Regions from separate parts of the Homo sapiens genome. Here all the other regions are linked to region 1. The links are contacts of gene promoters, found by promoter capture Hi-C in blood cells and fetal thymus (Javierre and others, 2016). All regions are on one chromosome and are shown on one strand. The core of a region is centred on a gene start or on the middle of the fragment in contact, and the rest is flanking DNA. Distances in the headings are between cores, read along the strand shown. Region 1 holds the start of GFPT1 (glutamine--fructose-6-phosphate transaminase 1). Region 2 holds the start of PAIP2B (poly(A) binding protein interacting protein 2B). Region 3 holds the start of MCEE (methylmalonyl-CoA epimerase).

Region 1 (4,768 bases), core at 1,602-4,101:
CTTCTGCTTCAACAATGCACAACGTTGAAATAAAATAATCTTTTAGGCAAATTTAACTAGGGCCGGGTAAGGTGGCTCACTCCTGTAATCCCAGCACTTTGGGAGGCTGTGGTAGGTGGATTACCTGAGGTCAGCAGACCAGTCTGGTCAACATGGTGAAACCCCACCTCTACCAAAAATGCAAAAATTAGCCAGGTGTGGTGGTACACCCCTGTAATCCCAGCTACTCGGGAGGTTGAACCCCGGAGACAGAGGCTGCAGTGAGCCAAGATCATGCCGCTGCACTCCAGCCTGGGCGACAGAGAGAGGCCCCGTCACAAAAAAAAAAAAAAAAAAAGAAAAAAGAAAGAAAGAAAAGAAAGAAGAGAAAGAAAGAAAGAGAGAGAAAGAAGAAAGAAAGAAAAAGAAAGAAAGAAAGAAAAGAAAAGAAAGAAGGAAAGAAAGAGAAAAACTTAACTAGATAGCAAGTAATCAGAAAGTAAGCTTCCAGATTTTCCCATCTAGTCTAATTTTCACTCCATTTCTCTGCTCAGGAATTTTAGTTCAATGACTAAGATGTGGGAGGAAAATAATGACACTCATCTTCTTATCTTTCAGAATTTACATTAGAGAGAAAATAAATTCTGAACCCTATCCCTAGAATCAGGCAAAACCGTGGTATGACTTAAAAGCAGGACCTCAGAAATGCCTCAAATATTCACTTTTTATTTCTTCAATACCTGTTTCCTCAGCCGTAAAACTCTATGGAATGGAGACACAAACTATGTGAAAACTCCCAACATTTAGTCTCCACCCTAAAGGTATCTCCCTTATCTGAACCTGATTTCCATATCTGATTTATTTATTTATATTTATTTATCATTTTTGAGATGGAGTTTTGCTCTTTTTTACCCAGGCTGGATTACAATGGCGCGATCCCGGCTCACTGCAACCTCCACCTCCTGGGTTCAAGCAATTCTCCTGCCTCAGCCTCCCGAGTAGCTGGGATTACAGGCGCGTACCACCACGCCCAGCTAATTTTGTATTTTTAGTAGACATGGAGTTTCACCACGTTGGCCAGGCTAGTCTTGAACTCCTGAGCTCAGGTGATCCACCTGCCTCGGCCTCCCAAAGTGCTGAGATTATAGGCGGGAGCCACCACGCCCAGCGCTGATTTATTTATTTATTTATTTTTTTTTCAGTAAGTACTTTGACTACGTTTTTTTCTTGGAACATGATGAAATGACCTGCAACCAGAATGTTGAGTACTTGATGAGGCACACCCCTCATCATTCAGGAACAGTTAACTACCAAATGAAGCACACTGGAGATTGACCAGTTTGCAAATTCACTACTTCACAGCTCCAAACTAAATGCAAAACCATTCTACTAAGTAGACACTGCAAAAGTCTGATTCTGAAGTCAGCTCTACTCTAATAATTTCAGTAAGCTATTTATAGGTGTTTCTGTTTTTATGTGGGTTTTTTTTTAATCTACTCTAAATTTAAACCTGCTCCTCATTTTCAGAAGCTGAAATGAGCATAAAGTTAAATACAGGAAATATATACACTAACGAGTACAATCCACCTCCTGTTCAGTTCCTTCGTGTAAAAGGCTGCAAATAAGAAGTCTCCCAGAGAGTTTTCAATTCTCTTACAATGGTACTTCCCTTTAAAAAAAAAAAAAAAAAGTGTACTTTCTTCCAGGGATAAAGTCGGTTGTAAATTTCAATAAGAAAGGTAAGAATACAATTATTTTTACTGGCAATAGCCAAATTAACACCAATTTTAGAAGATATCAGTCATGTCAGACACGATTCTCAAAGTCTCTTTCACTAACACTTAGGTCATAATAAACGACTCTCAAAACATGGAATAAAAGGGCCTAACCTTAATTTTTTAAGGCTCTAGGAAAGATATTTGCTCAACTTTCCATAGCTAGTATTTTTAATGGATGCACATGCAAGGGATAAATGATATTTTTCATAGTTGGTATTCTAAAGGGGTATACATCCAAGGTATAACTGATATTTTTCAGAGCTGGCATTTTTAATGGGTGCACACGCAAATGATAAATTATGTATAACCTATCGCCACAGACATTTGAAGGCCTCTTCCACCAGAGGATCAGGTCTAAGCCCATGAACCAAGTTATTGATTAGCAATGGTTTCTGTTGAGACAAGGGATGGCAGGAAGTATCACGTTTAATGGCACTACCGTGGCTCTAGCTAGGGTCTGTTTTCTATTGGGCCTCCCCAGAAACAAGTAAAATATTTTTTTAAAGATTTTTAGAAAAATGCAAGGTAAGTTCAAGAGACCTCGCCCGAGGTTCCACAGGTTTCCTCACTCACCTGGTGGGCCCTTTTGAAGGCAACCCCCTCCACACCTCAATTCCCTCAGCTCTCTCCTCCTTTTTCAATAAAGGCGTTTCTCTCCCCTTTCGGTTCCTTCTCCGCGCCAAGGCGCCCGCTAGCCCCCGGCAAAGGGGGCCCGCCTTCCTCTCAGGTGCCTTTCTCCCGGCCGCCACCCCCTCTCCCGCCCGTGGATGCCGGCCCCCGCCCCCGCAGCCACCACTGGGCGCCCCTTGCCCATCACCCAGACTTCGCACCCTCCACACTCCCGCTTCCGCCCGTCGCCTTGGGCCTTAGCGGCACCCGCACCGCACCCCAGCGCCACCCGGCAACACGCCCCCCGCTCCCGGCCCCCTTACCACACATGATGCCGGAGACACGGCCCGCGAGGCCAGGGGCGAGTGGCTGGCGGGATCGGGGGTGCACACACGAGCTTCGGTGGGCAATCTGCGGGCTCGGGGGCCGGGGTGGCGCCGACACGACTCCCTCGGGGATGCGACGGCCAAGGCAACGACAGCCTTCTCCGCCTCCCGGGCTCCGCCAGCAACCGCCGCCGGGCCCCGCCCCTCGGCGCGCAGCGCGCCGCCGCCCGTAGGCTCCATTGAACCGCTCACGCGCCGCTCACGCGCAAGTCCCGCCTCCCAGCGCTGCCCCGCCCCCCGAGCCCACGCAGGCGCTGGACTGCTGGCGGCGGCGACGTGGCAGTGGCTCGTGGCCGCGTCCGCCTGGAGTTCCTGGAGACGCCCGCCCCGGGGCGAGCCGCGGGAGGGACCGAGCCGAGAGGGAGGGAGAAACTCAGCACCTGGCAGGGAATGACGGAAAGAGAAGGATGGAATTGTTAGCAAAGCAATAGCCCGGGTGCGTGCCCCGTGCAGCCCCAGGCCCCAGGCGCCAGCACTGCACGAAGCGAGGAAAGAGGAGGAAAAAAGCAGGAAGTATGAAAAGGGAATCCTGGGGAACATAAGGCTGAAAAAAATTGCAAAGAATTAGGTTGAGGTGGGAGGAGAGAGATAACAAAATTCTTGACTGTAAAGCCCCAAAGGTCAGCCTCTCTGGTAATAAGCAATTCAATTCCTTGTGTAATATGCTTGGCCCCTAAAAGCCCTCCGCATCCGTTGCCTCCATAACCCTCAGTTTATTGTGGAGGGGTAGAGGAGGAATGTAAGGCTCAACTATCCGACTATGAGCCTGGACGTAAGAAACTGCTGGCCCACCTCCTCCCATGACCCACCTGAGACGGCTAGGAATTCCCTAGCTTTAACAGCCGCGCGTTTGACTTACGAACGATTCATTCTATGAATTAATGCGCCATGTCTGACAAGAGAGACTTGATTAGAGAGGGATGATGTTTCTGAGAATTTATTACCTGGGCATTTGCTTTAAACAGCCTTAAATGGTATCTTTAGTCAAATGTGGAGTAATCAGAACTCTATAATGGCTCTAGAGTAGAGTAGTATCAAAAACGTACATGGCACACAGAATTCCTGGAGTGCTGACTGCTGTTCATGTGTCTGGTCTTAGCCTGCTGACTGCTGTTCATGTGTCTGGTCTTAGCCGTCCTTCCAGCCCTATACACTCCCAACAGGCTCAACAGGTAGTTCCTCAACTGGGCCAAGATTCTCAAATCTTTTGCACACTTTGGTTACTCTGCATAGAATCCCCACCACGTCTCTGTTTAGATGCTACCTCTTCAGGAAAGCCTTTTTTATCCCCCCTAGACAGACTTGGAGACATGCATTAACCTCTTACTCTTTGAGCTACTCACTGTAAAGAAATATTCTTTGATATTTTATGATTTTCTGTATTTTCCCACTGGGCTGTAAGTTTCTTGAAGCTAGAACTAGATTTTACATACCCAACACTTTTAGACCACAGCACAAAGTAAAAGATCAAATTTATTTTGGAATGAGTGAAAAAAAGTCCTATTTTCTTAGCGGAATTAACCTTCTATGGCTGGTTATATGATTAAGTGAGCATAAGGCTTTCAGTTCTTCTTACGGGGAAAAGTGCCTTTTTTCACTTGCCTCAGAGAAGCTGAAAAATGTCACATTTAACTAAGCAGAGTATTTCTCACCTAAAAGCCCTTTTGATATTTCAATCCCTTAAACAGGTCCCTGGATCACCCAGAGCAAAGTTTAAAAAAAAAAAAAACAGTGAGCTTTTTGGTAATAATACATTTCTTAATTCAAGAAACAAAAGACTGTGGATATACATCTAGCCTCAGAACCCTCATCTAAGGCTCTGGTTAGAACTCCGTTGTATTACCTAAAAGCCAAGGTATGGTTCCAATGCTTAAGCAACATCTTTGTGCACTGGCAGCAAACCTGTCAATGCCACAAAGAAAATGTCAGCAGTACTACCAGAGTTCTCATGCTCCAACTATAGTAATCTATTTAACCCTTTGCTTTCTTCTTCTGCCTGCTACTCCACCACAATGA
Region 2 (4,768 bases), core at 606-3,105, 1.8 Mb after region 1:
CAGAGTAAAGATTTCTTTTAATTCACTATAATAGACTTTTTTCTTTATATACAAGATACAATTTTACCACAGTAAAATACAAGGAAGCATACTGATACATACATTACAAACAGGATAAAGAAAGCAATATAATTTTTTCCACAAAAGCTTGCAAAATCCTGGCCAAAACACAGTGAACATGATGTTAAACTCATAGCTTACATTTCTCCACTGAAAGCTAGGAAAAACAATTCCAATTTTTGAAAAGTCAGGAAACTAAGCACTGTGAGAATTTACAAGATTTTGTAAACCTGTATATTCTCCCCACCCCGATATACAAGTAGCCAGAGGAGCCTATCAGTCTTACCCCAACACTTCAATCTCCTCCAACCTTCAAAATAAAACCCTCACTGTCCAATATCTGAATTTATATTTTCAAACGTCTAAAATCTTAATCAAAGCTAAGAGCAGTGCATTAGCTTTTCCCCATAAAATTGTTGGCATAATTTTACTTAGGCACAGCATAGTTTGTACTGTTATCAAAAAACATATGGCTAGAACCGACATTACTAGAAACCAAACGAATATACTATGAAGGTGAAAAGGGAACAGGGAATGTTGTTTTTGGACAGATTCAATGCTGTTATTATCCCTTCATAGGTTGGGTGTGATCGAATCACACTGTGCTGTACAACTAAGTATGTTCTATATTTTATGACAAAGTAGGGTAGCCAGGCCCTTACACTACAAACTCCCAGAAACCCCAGTTAAGCTGTTTAAAGTATAATCCAATTCAATTTACTGAAAATAATAGTAACAAAATTTAAATCCCTTGCTTCTAGTTAGCCCTTTTCAACTGCATTTTCAGCAATTACCACCAAAAGAACTGCATTAGGACAAAGATTCTAGAGCGGGTATAATGGTCAAATGCCATTTGAAGGCAAAAACAGTCTACCAGGAACAAAACATTAAAGTTCCCAACCTTGCCAAACTCCCTGTTCTGCGTATTCTGCCTCTCTCAGTTCACCTTCCAGCTGCCTGGAAGAGGCAAGTGGAAAATGTTAGTTTTCTGGAGAGATGAGAATGGAATTTAGGGGTTGGTAGGGGGTGATGGGCTCACTCACGGACCGCAAGGCACAAGAGAAGTGGCGAACGTCTCCCAGGCAAATGAGGCATGAAGAATGAGGGCTGGAGTCAAGGGGGAGATGGAGCAAGTATAAAAAGGCAGAGGACGCGCAGGGGCCGCGAATAGGGGAAGGGCACGACGCGCAATCCCTCCCGCTCCAGCCCGGGGAGAGGGGCGGGGGATGCCGCGCGGGTCAATTTGCCTAGCATTGTTGCACCTGGGTAGAAATGGGACTCAGGCCAAGAATTCGGTTCGAGTGTTAGGAGGACGCTGAGGGGAGTCAGGAACTTGGGTGGGAGTCGGGGGGAAACAGAGCACCTGTGCGGGGGGGAAAGGGACGAAAACCCCCTATTGCTCCCGAGGGGCAGGGGCTGACCCCAGCGGACGCCCCTTTTCGCCGATGGCCGCGACGTGGGACCCCGCGCGCTTTCCCTCCCTACAGGAGCTCGGGCAGGCGCGTGCCGCCCTTCACAGCCCCGACGGCGGCAGAAAGGGAGGCGCAGGGCGCCCCCAGAGCCGGGAGAACGGCGTTTCCCTCGAGTCCTTTCCCCAGCAGCCCGGGCACCCGAGCCCACCTGGGCTAACCAGAAGCCCCTCCTTCAGATCGTACTCTGCCACTCCTCCGAGAGCTTAAGCCGTTGCCGTAGAGGTCGCCGTCGCCACAACAGTCTCGGCCTTTAGTACCAAAACGTGAAGCACAGCACCCGAGAAGCGCCACTACCACTTGCCAGGTTATCTCTTACTGCACACTGCCTCCTCGCCCCGCCCCCGAACCCAAGCCATTGGTTGCCGGGCACCGCCCCATTCGTCTATTGGGCCAAAGAAGATGCCGTTCGGTCACCTAGAATGGCATATGTGGTTTTTATTGGTCTAAATGTGAAGCAGTGCCCGCCCACTCCCTCAGAAGTTTCAGCTTCTGATTGGTTTTAATGTCTGTCTTTTCTCTTCCTTCATTTTTTTTTTCCTGTGGTGGAACACCTCCTTGAGGGAGATGCCGGCTCTGATTGGCTGAAAGGACGCTACGCTAGCCTGGGATAGGCATTGGGCCAAGGATGCGCCCGGCCCACTCGTGGGGGAGGAGACCAAGGCGCCGCACTCTGGGTTTGTTTACACAGGCTCTTGCTCCCGCTTCGTCTATTGGCTGAGCTGGAAGCCACTGCCACCGAGTTTTGCCTGTCAGCCTAGCAAGGAGGAGGGTGGGGGTGGGCCTCAGTAGGATTTCCCTCAGCTGTCAATTACCAAAGGAGGAGCTTTGATTCAGGCTGCTTTGGACCTGGTGCTATTCTCTGTAGGGAAAATTAAGGAATTGGGCTCCTTGGGAGGCTGGAAGGAAGCAAAGGGACGCTGGAAGGAAGCAGACGGATGCTTCCACGTTTCTAGAAACAAACCTAACTTCTTGAGTGCTTTAAAAAAATAAAACTTGGCCGGGCGCGGTGGCTCACGCCTGTAATCCCACCACTCTGGGAGGCCGAGACGGGCGGATCACAAGGTCAGGAGTTCTAGACCAGCCTCGCCAGTATGGTGAAACCCCGTCTCTACTAAAAATGCAAAAATTAGCTGGGCGTGGTGGCGGGCTCCTGTAGTCCCAGCTACTCGGGAGGCTGAGGCAGGAGAATCACTTGAACCCGGGAGGCAGAGGTTGCAGTGAGCCAAGATCGCACCACTGCACTCCAATCTGGGCAATAGAGTGAGGTTGCGACTCAAAAAAAAATACATCAATAAATACAAATTAAAATAAAACTTTATTGCCTCCCTTGGATTTAGAATGTCCAATCTGCTTGCAAAGGACTTCGAATTGTATTCCACAGGAAGTAGGGATTTCTTTGTGGAGCTCTTACTTTATACATTTTTCTCTCCCCCCCACCTCTCAAGCTGACTGTATACATGACACAAAGTTAGGGAATTGCAGAATGAATGGAAAAAATATAAAAATGAAAAAGATAAACTCAAATAACAATTATAAATATTAGCTGTATACTTTGATATGGTTTGGCTCTGTGTCCCCACCCAAATCTCATTTTGAATTATAATTCCCAATGTTGGGGGAGGGACTTGGTGGGAGGCGATTGGATCATGGGGGCAGATTTCCCCCTTGCTGTTCTCGTGATAGTGAGTGAGTTCTCACAAGGTCTGATGGTAAAAAAAGTGTGTGTCCTTCCCCCTTAGCTCTCTCTCCCTCTTGCTACCATGTGAAAACGTGCTTGCTTCCCCTTTGCCCTGATTGTAAGTTTCCTGAGGCCTCACCAGCCATGCCTCCTGTACAGCCTGAGGAACGGTGAGTCAATTAAACCTCTTTTCTTTATAAATTACTCAGTCTCAGGTAGTTCTTTATAGCAATGTGAGAATGGACTAATACATACTTCATATTAAATGATATAAGTAAATAAATAAATTCATTCAACAAGTATTATTTAGCATCTACTATGAATGTTCTAGGCTCTGATCATGGAACTGGGTATATGATATGAATAAGACAGTGAAGATGCACCCATGGTGTTTATACTGTAGTGAAGGAGACTGACAACAGAAAAGTAACCAATAAATAATAAAATGGTATGTTGTGAATAAATGCTACAAAGGAAAATAAAGCAGAGTCATGGGATGGTTGGGGAAATGGCTATTTTAAGTAGGATGGTTAGTTTAAGAGCTGTTTGAGGAAACAGCACTGAACAGAGATGTGAATAATGTGAAGAAGTGAAGAGTGGGAAGGGGCTAATAAGCAGAGCCACTACAGTGCACAACTCCAGGATCACTATTCACATTGCTCCATGTATTTTGAAGTTGTGTATTAGGTGTACATCCATTTAGGGCTGCCAACTCTGGTTTAAAGCTTTATTTGATTACATAATTTAAATGACGCCTGCAAGAAACATGTGTCTTTTAGAAAAAAAAAAATCTCTCTCTAGGATAGCATCCCCATACCCTCCACTGCTTCTTTCCCTGAATTGGCCTTCCGGTGTATGATGAGAGAAAGTTTACACAATCTCATAGGTTTGAAAAACAGGCTCTTCTGGTCCACGTGGTGTCCTTGAGCAGTCAGAAATACTCCTTGAGGATGAACCTTTATTACCAGGATAGCAATGGGATGTAAGGAAGGGTTGATGAACTTCTCTCGTCTCACTTCCTACCACTGGTGCCATCTATTATAAATTCATGGCTGGCTATTACCAGTGATAAAGAGAAAAGTCTTAAAAGCAGGCAGAAAAAAAATATGGCCATTTTAAGTAGAATGGTTAGTTTAAGAGCTGTTTGAGGAAAGACCATTGAACAGAGATGTGAAGAAGTGAAGAGCAGGAAGGGGCTGGGAAACATACAGAGGGGAAAAAATAGATAAGAATTACAGCAAATTTCTTATCAGAAACTATGGAAGCCAAAAGACAATGAAGGAATGAGGTAGCAATGTGGGTATCTGGTGGTGGTGGGCAGGGACAGATATGAGACAAAAACCAGTCATAAAGTTGTAGGAGATGATGTCAATGAGAGGGAGGGAGGCAAGAGAAGCCCATCACCCTTCCCCACATCCTATTGCTATTAGGGCAATAAATCTTCAACCTTGAAGATTACATCATTTCATTTTTTAAAATTTAATTGTGGTAAAATATATATAAAATTTACCATCTTAACTATTTTAAGTGTACAGTTCAGTTACAGTAAGTACATTCA
Region 3 (4,768 bases), core at 834-3,333, 1.7 Mb after region 1:
CCATTTACAGACGATTAATGAAAGTAAACCTATGCAGTCATGTAAGTTGGTCATTCTTGTCTCCCACCTAACAGGTTCAATTTCCATTTTCAGAACTTTTCTACGTGTTCACTCTGATTTTTCTGTGCTTTTGTTTTTCGGCGAAGTTTTATGTTCCTTAAAAGAGGGGCCATAACATAGAATTACCATGTAATCCAGCAATTCCACTTATGAGTATACACACCCCCAAAGAAGCGGGAATTCAGAAGTATTTGTACACCCACGTTCATAGCTGTATTACAATAGCCAAAAGGTGGGGATAACCCAAATGTCTATCAAGAGACGAATGGATAAACAAAATGTGGTATACACACACAATGGAATATTATTCAGTCTTAAAAAGCAATTTTTTTTTTTTTTCTGAGACGGAGTTTCGCTTTGGTTGCCCAGGCTGGAGTGCAGTGGCGCGATCTTGGCTCACGCCAACCTCCGCCTCCCGGGTTCAAGCGATTATCCTGCCTCAGCCTCCCGAGTACCCGGGATAACAGGCGTGTGCTACCACGCCCGGCTAATTTTTGTATTTTTAGTAGAGACGGGCTCACGCCTGTAATCCCAGCACTTTGGGAAGACGAGGTGGGCAGATCACCTGAGGCCAGGAGTTCCAAACCAGCCTGGCCAACATGGTGAAATCTCGTCTCCACTAAAAATGCAAAAAATTAGCCGGGCGTGGTGCCGGGTGCCTGTAATCCCAGCTACTCGGGAGGCTGAGGCGGAAGAATGGCTTGAACCTGGGAGGCAGAGGTTGCAGTGAGCTAACGCCACTGCACTCCAGCCTGGGCGACAGAGTGAGACTCTGTCTCAAAAAAAAAAAAAAAGGTAAATTTTACTTTATGTATATTCAACCACACACACACACACACAAGTGGAGACATTAAGCTTCAAGTATCTTAATAGGACAAATCAAAGGCAATCTTTGGAATACACTGTCTTCATTTTTCCTTTATGCCAAGATGTGTATGTAAGTACAAAACAAACATGCACCTTTATCTGTATTGAGTTCTTGCAGTATGTATATGACCTGTTGGAAGTCATACTTTTTCCCAAACTGTCAATCATTAAAGTGTGCAGTTCTAAAAATAGACATAAAAATGCCTTTTCCCAAATATTCATTTATTTATAGTTTTACGTTCCTATCTTGTGTATCACCTAAGAGGAAGGTATGCCTTACGGTTAAGAATGTGGGCTCTGGTGCTAGAAGGATTTATCACGAATGTCCCGGAGTAACTCTGGGGCATTACCACTTGGCACCTTCTTCCTAATAGGGAATCTCAGATTAAGGGAAATACTTGCCCTCTCATAAAAGGAGGAAGAGAAAAAAAAAAAGGATAAAAAGAGGAGAAAGTGAGTCAGAAAACGTGACAATTATTACAGTTATTTCTGTCATAACTGATTCTATGTACATATTTTAAAAAAAATGAAGGGGGAGAGAACTCAAGAAAGTTTCCAAATCCACATGCTTTTATCTGTGTACGCGATAAATATATTAGTGCACGTGGAAAAACCACTCCTTTTGTATTCTTTACACCACTGACCTTTGAGTGTTCCCAACAGAAAGCTGGTCACGCTTGGAGTTCGGCCGACTAGTAGTTGTTGTTTTTACGGAACGTGCTCTCCTTTCTGGTTTCTCCCCAGTCTCTTTATTGGTGCGCGGTAAAATAACTTACCGATCCGCTTCTATTTACTTCTGTCCCTGCCCTGCCTGACCTGCCGGGCAAGTTCCCTCGACTCTCCCGCCCACATACTGGAAGGTGCAGAGCCCAAGGCGCACAGCTCTCGGATGGAAATGGGACTCATGCACAAGGCAATCCCCGCTACTAAGCGGTGGCGCTTCTGGAAGGCACCCTCTGCCTAAGTGACAGCAGCTGCTGTGGAACGCGCCCCCGGGGGAGGACATTAGATCAAGGTGCTTTGGCCACGCCGAGGCCTCCTCCGCCCCCGACCGCCGTTCCCACGCTCCCTGTCCCATGGCGAAGGTCGCCGGTGCCCGGTATTCACCTACGGCATTCGCGGCTGCAGCCTTCAGCACCCGCGCCATTTTGGAAAGCAACCCGCCACGTCAAGACTAGCCACGGAGGTTGAGAGACGCGCGGCAGAGGGCGGGGCGGGAGGCAGAGGGGGCGGGGACAGAAAGGTCAGGGGCGTGGCGAAGGTCGCTGCTTTCCTGCTACAACGGGCCTACTTTAGCTAAAACAGAAACGTAAGGCCAGGACGGGTCACCCTTTGTGGGCCCCTGAAAAATACAAAACGAAGTTTGGAGAGAGTTGAAAGGCGTTTGGGCTGACCATGGAGATTTTTGTTTCCCACCCTCCTGCGAAAGCGCTCGCGCTGCCATTGGCTCTGGCTGAGGGCGAGTCCGGAACCTGTGCGCCGCGGAACTTTCGGCTCTGAAATCCAAGTTGCGCTGGGCGCATCTTTGCCGCGCGGTTTCCGGGCGGCTCCCTTCCCTTGCATGCTGCATTGTGTCGGGAGTTGCTGACAGCCATGGCGCCGCAGGTCTGGCGTCGACGGACCCTGGAGCGGTGTCTGACGGAAGTCGGCAAAGCCACGGGTCGGCCCGAGTGCTTCCTCACGTAAGTGCGCAGATCCCGGGCTCGGGGTGCGACCGGGGTCTCACGTGGACGCGGGTTGCAGGCCTCCGGCAAATTGTGGAGCTGGGGGAAGGTAAGGGGAAACGTAAAATCGCTTTTCCCCAAATTTCAGAGTTTATGCTTTCCTAGGCTATCAAAATTTTAAAAACTGTTAAAATTTGTATAGATGGATCTCTCAGTTGAGTGTTACTGAAATCACTCTAACCTCAATTGTTAACACCTAGAAGCTTCCCTTGGGCTTCTTACGCCCCCATCCCTCTACACACAGACTGTTGGTTTCTCCTTCCTCCTATGTGCTCTCAAAGCACTTAGCGCTTAGCATACTTTATTGAAAGTACGAACTTGTCACTTGTCTGTCCACCCCCCATGACTAAGCTTCTTCAGAAATAGAACTTCCATGTCTCTTCCCAACACAAGCGTTTTATATGTATTTTGTTGAAGAATTTAAAATGTGATCTATGAAATTATTACTCATTTATGTTTCAAACCCCAACCTTTCCCTGAGTTCCCAGCTCACAGCAACTACAGACTGAGCTTAGTTTGAATTCCGTAGCACACAACTGGGATATCCACACTGTACAACTTTTAACGATTTTTAAAATTTTGGTACTGTCAAGCATCTCAAATTCACTGCGTCCAAAATAGAGCTGTTGTGTCTGTTTAATAGAATTGTTGTTTCTACCCACCTATACTCTGCCATCCCCTGAAGTCCTTTTCCCATGCTACACCTGTCAAGCGCGTCTGTGTGAAGAGACCACTAAAACAGGCTTTGTGTGAGCCACAAGGCTGTTTATTCACTTGGGTGCAAGTGGGCTGAGTCCGAAAAGAGAGTCAACTAATGGTGATGGGGAAGGGGTTGCTTTATAGGAGTTGGGTAGGTAATGGAAAATTACAGTAAAAGGTGGTTATCTATTAGCAGAGGAGGACGGGGTCACAAGGTACATGGTGGGGAGATCATAAGACTTATTGTCCAGAAGAAGAATGTCACAAGGTCGATTGATCAGTTAAGGTAGGGCAGGGACAAGTCACAATGGAGGAATGTTGTAATGTTGATTAATCAATTAAGGCAGGAACTGGCTGTTTTATTTCTTTTGTGGTTTTTCGGCTGCCCCAGACTTCTTGGCTCCTGCAGGCCATCTGGACATATATGTGCAGGTCACAGGGGTTACAATGGCTGAGCTTCAGCTCAGAGGCCTGACACCACCACCCAAGCCTTCCCTATCTCAGTAAATGGCACTTCTGTCTTTTCAGGTACTCAAACATAAAACTAGGCTGCTACTTTAATGTCTTCATTTTTCTCTATTCTATATCTAATTCTTTAGCAATCCTGTCAGTTCTACCTCCAAACTATACTCAGCATATTCACTGCTCTAACTCCAGTCTAAATCACCATTATCCTTTCGCTGGAATGCTGCATCAACCTTCTAATCACTGTACTTTCCTCCTCCTCCCTCGTCCCTTTCTCCTTCCTTCGTGTAAATCATCATTTCATCCCTCTGCTTAAAATGTTTTCTCTTTACACTTTAAATGACAAATTCTTACTCCTGAACCATGCATAATTTGGCTCCCATCAGTCTCTCCAGCTTCACCCTCTGCCTCCTTCACACTCTAGCCATGGTCACCTGTTTGTTTCCTCAAGCTCACCTCTAGAGGATTTGCATCTTAGAGGATTTCTTCTGCCTGGAATACATGTTTCCCAACCTTTATAAGACTATCTCCTTATCTGTAGGTTTCCTCTCAGATGTGACATCTAAGAGAGGTTTTCCTTGACCACTGTAGCCAAAGCAAATGTTGATCATTGAATGAATAAGTGAACAAATGAATGGAGTGGTATATAATGTAGCAGAATTGATAATTTAAGGTTAATTCACTATATATCTCCAAGCAAATAGATTTATAATGGTTTTCCTGCCTAAAATCTATACAGCCGATTCACAGATACTTGGTTGACAGGTTTTATATATCAGTGTAGCTCATCAGCTTATATGTTGTTGGGGGCCAGAATCTATACTTATACTTCATTCAAATTTTATTTTACAAAAGAGTTGGGTTTTTTTTATTTTTATTAAGAGTGCTGTGAAATTATTACCTGTAATTCTAAATCTCACTTAATTCCTCCCAATAGGATTCAAGAGGGATTG

The links. Contacts are between HindIII fragments. The CHiCAGO score rates a contact against its expected background, and 5 or more counts as called.
Region 2: the fragment with the promoter of PAIP2B here is called in contact with the fragment with the promoter of GFPT1 in region 1 in 1 of 17 cell types (naive CD4 T cells); the score reaches 5.2 in naive CD4 T cells.
Region 3: the fragment with the promoter of MCEE here is called in contact with the fragment with the promoter of GFPT1 in region 1 in 2 of 17 cell types (non-activated CD4 T cells and naive CD8 T cells); the score reaches 9.5 in non-activated CD4 T cells.

Annotation. Positions count from the first base shown.
Region 1 is chr2:69,384,376-69,389,143 of GRCh38, forward strand. It overlaps GFPT1 (glutamine--fructose-6-phosphate transaminase 1), which reads right to left and starts at 2,852. Exons shown (of 20, transcript NM_001244710.2): 1 at 2,690-2,852. The coding sequence starts at 2,696. RefSeq lists silencers at 2,432-3,101, 3,162-3,271 and an enhancer at 2,644-3,203. The HindIII fragment of the contact is 6,543 bases long and covers 482-4,768 here.
Region 2 is chr2:71,225,248-71,230,015 of GRCh38, forward strand. It overlaps PAIP2B (poly(A) binding protein interacting protein 2B), which reads right to left and starts at 1,856. Exons shown (of 4, transcript NM_020459.1): 1 at 1,681-1,856. RefSeq lists enhancers at 1,286-1,786, 2,002-2,141. The HindIII fragment of the contact is 3,788 bases long and covers 146-3,933 here.
Region 3 is chr2:71,128,146-71,132,913 of GRCh38, forward strand. MCEE (methylmalonyl-CoA epimerase) reads right to left here and starts at 2,084. Exons shown (of 3, transcript NM_032601.4): 1 at 2,035-2,084. The coding sequence starts at 2,074. MPHOSPH10 (M-phase phosphoprotein 10) reads left to right here and starts at 2,489. Exons shown (of 11, transcript NM_005791.3): 1 at 2,489-2,609; 2 at 4,753-4,768. The coding sequence starts at 2,521. RefSeq lists enhancers at 1,307-2,165, 2,487-2,536, 2,637-2,686. The HindIII fragment of the contact is 1,939 bases long and covers 914-2,852 here.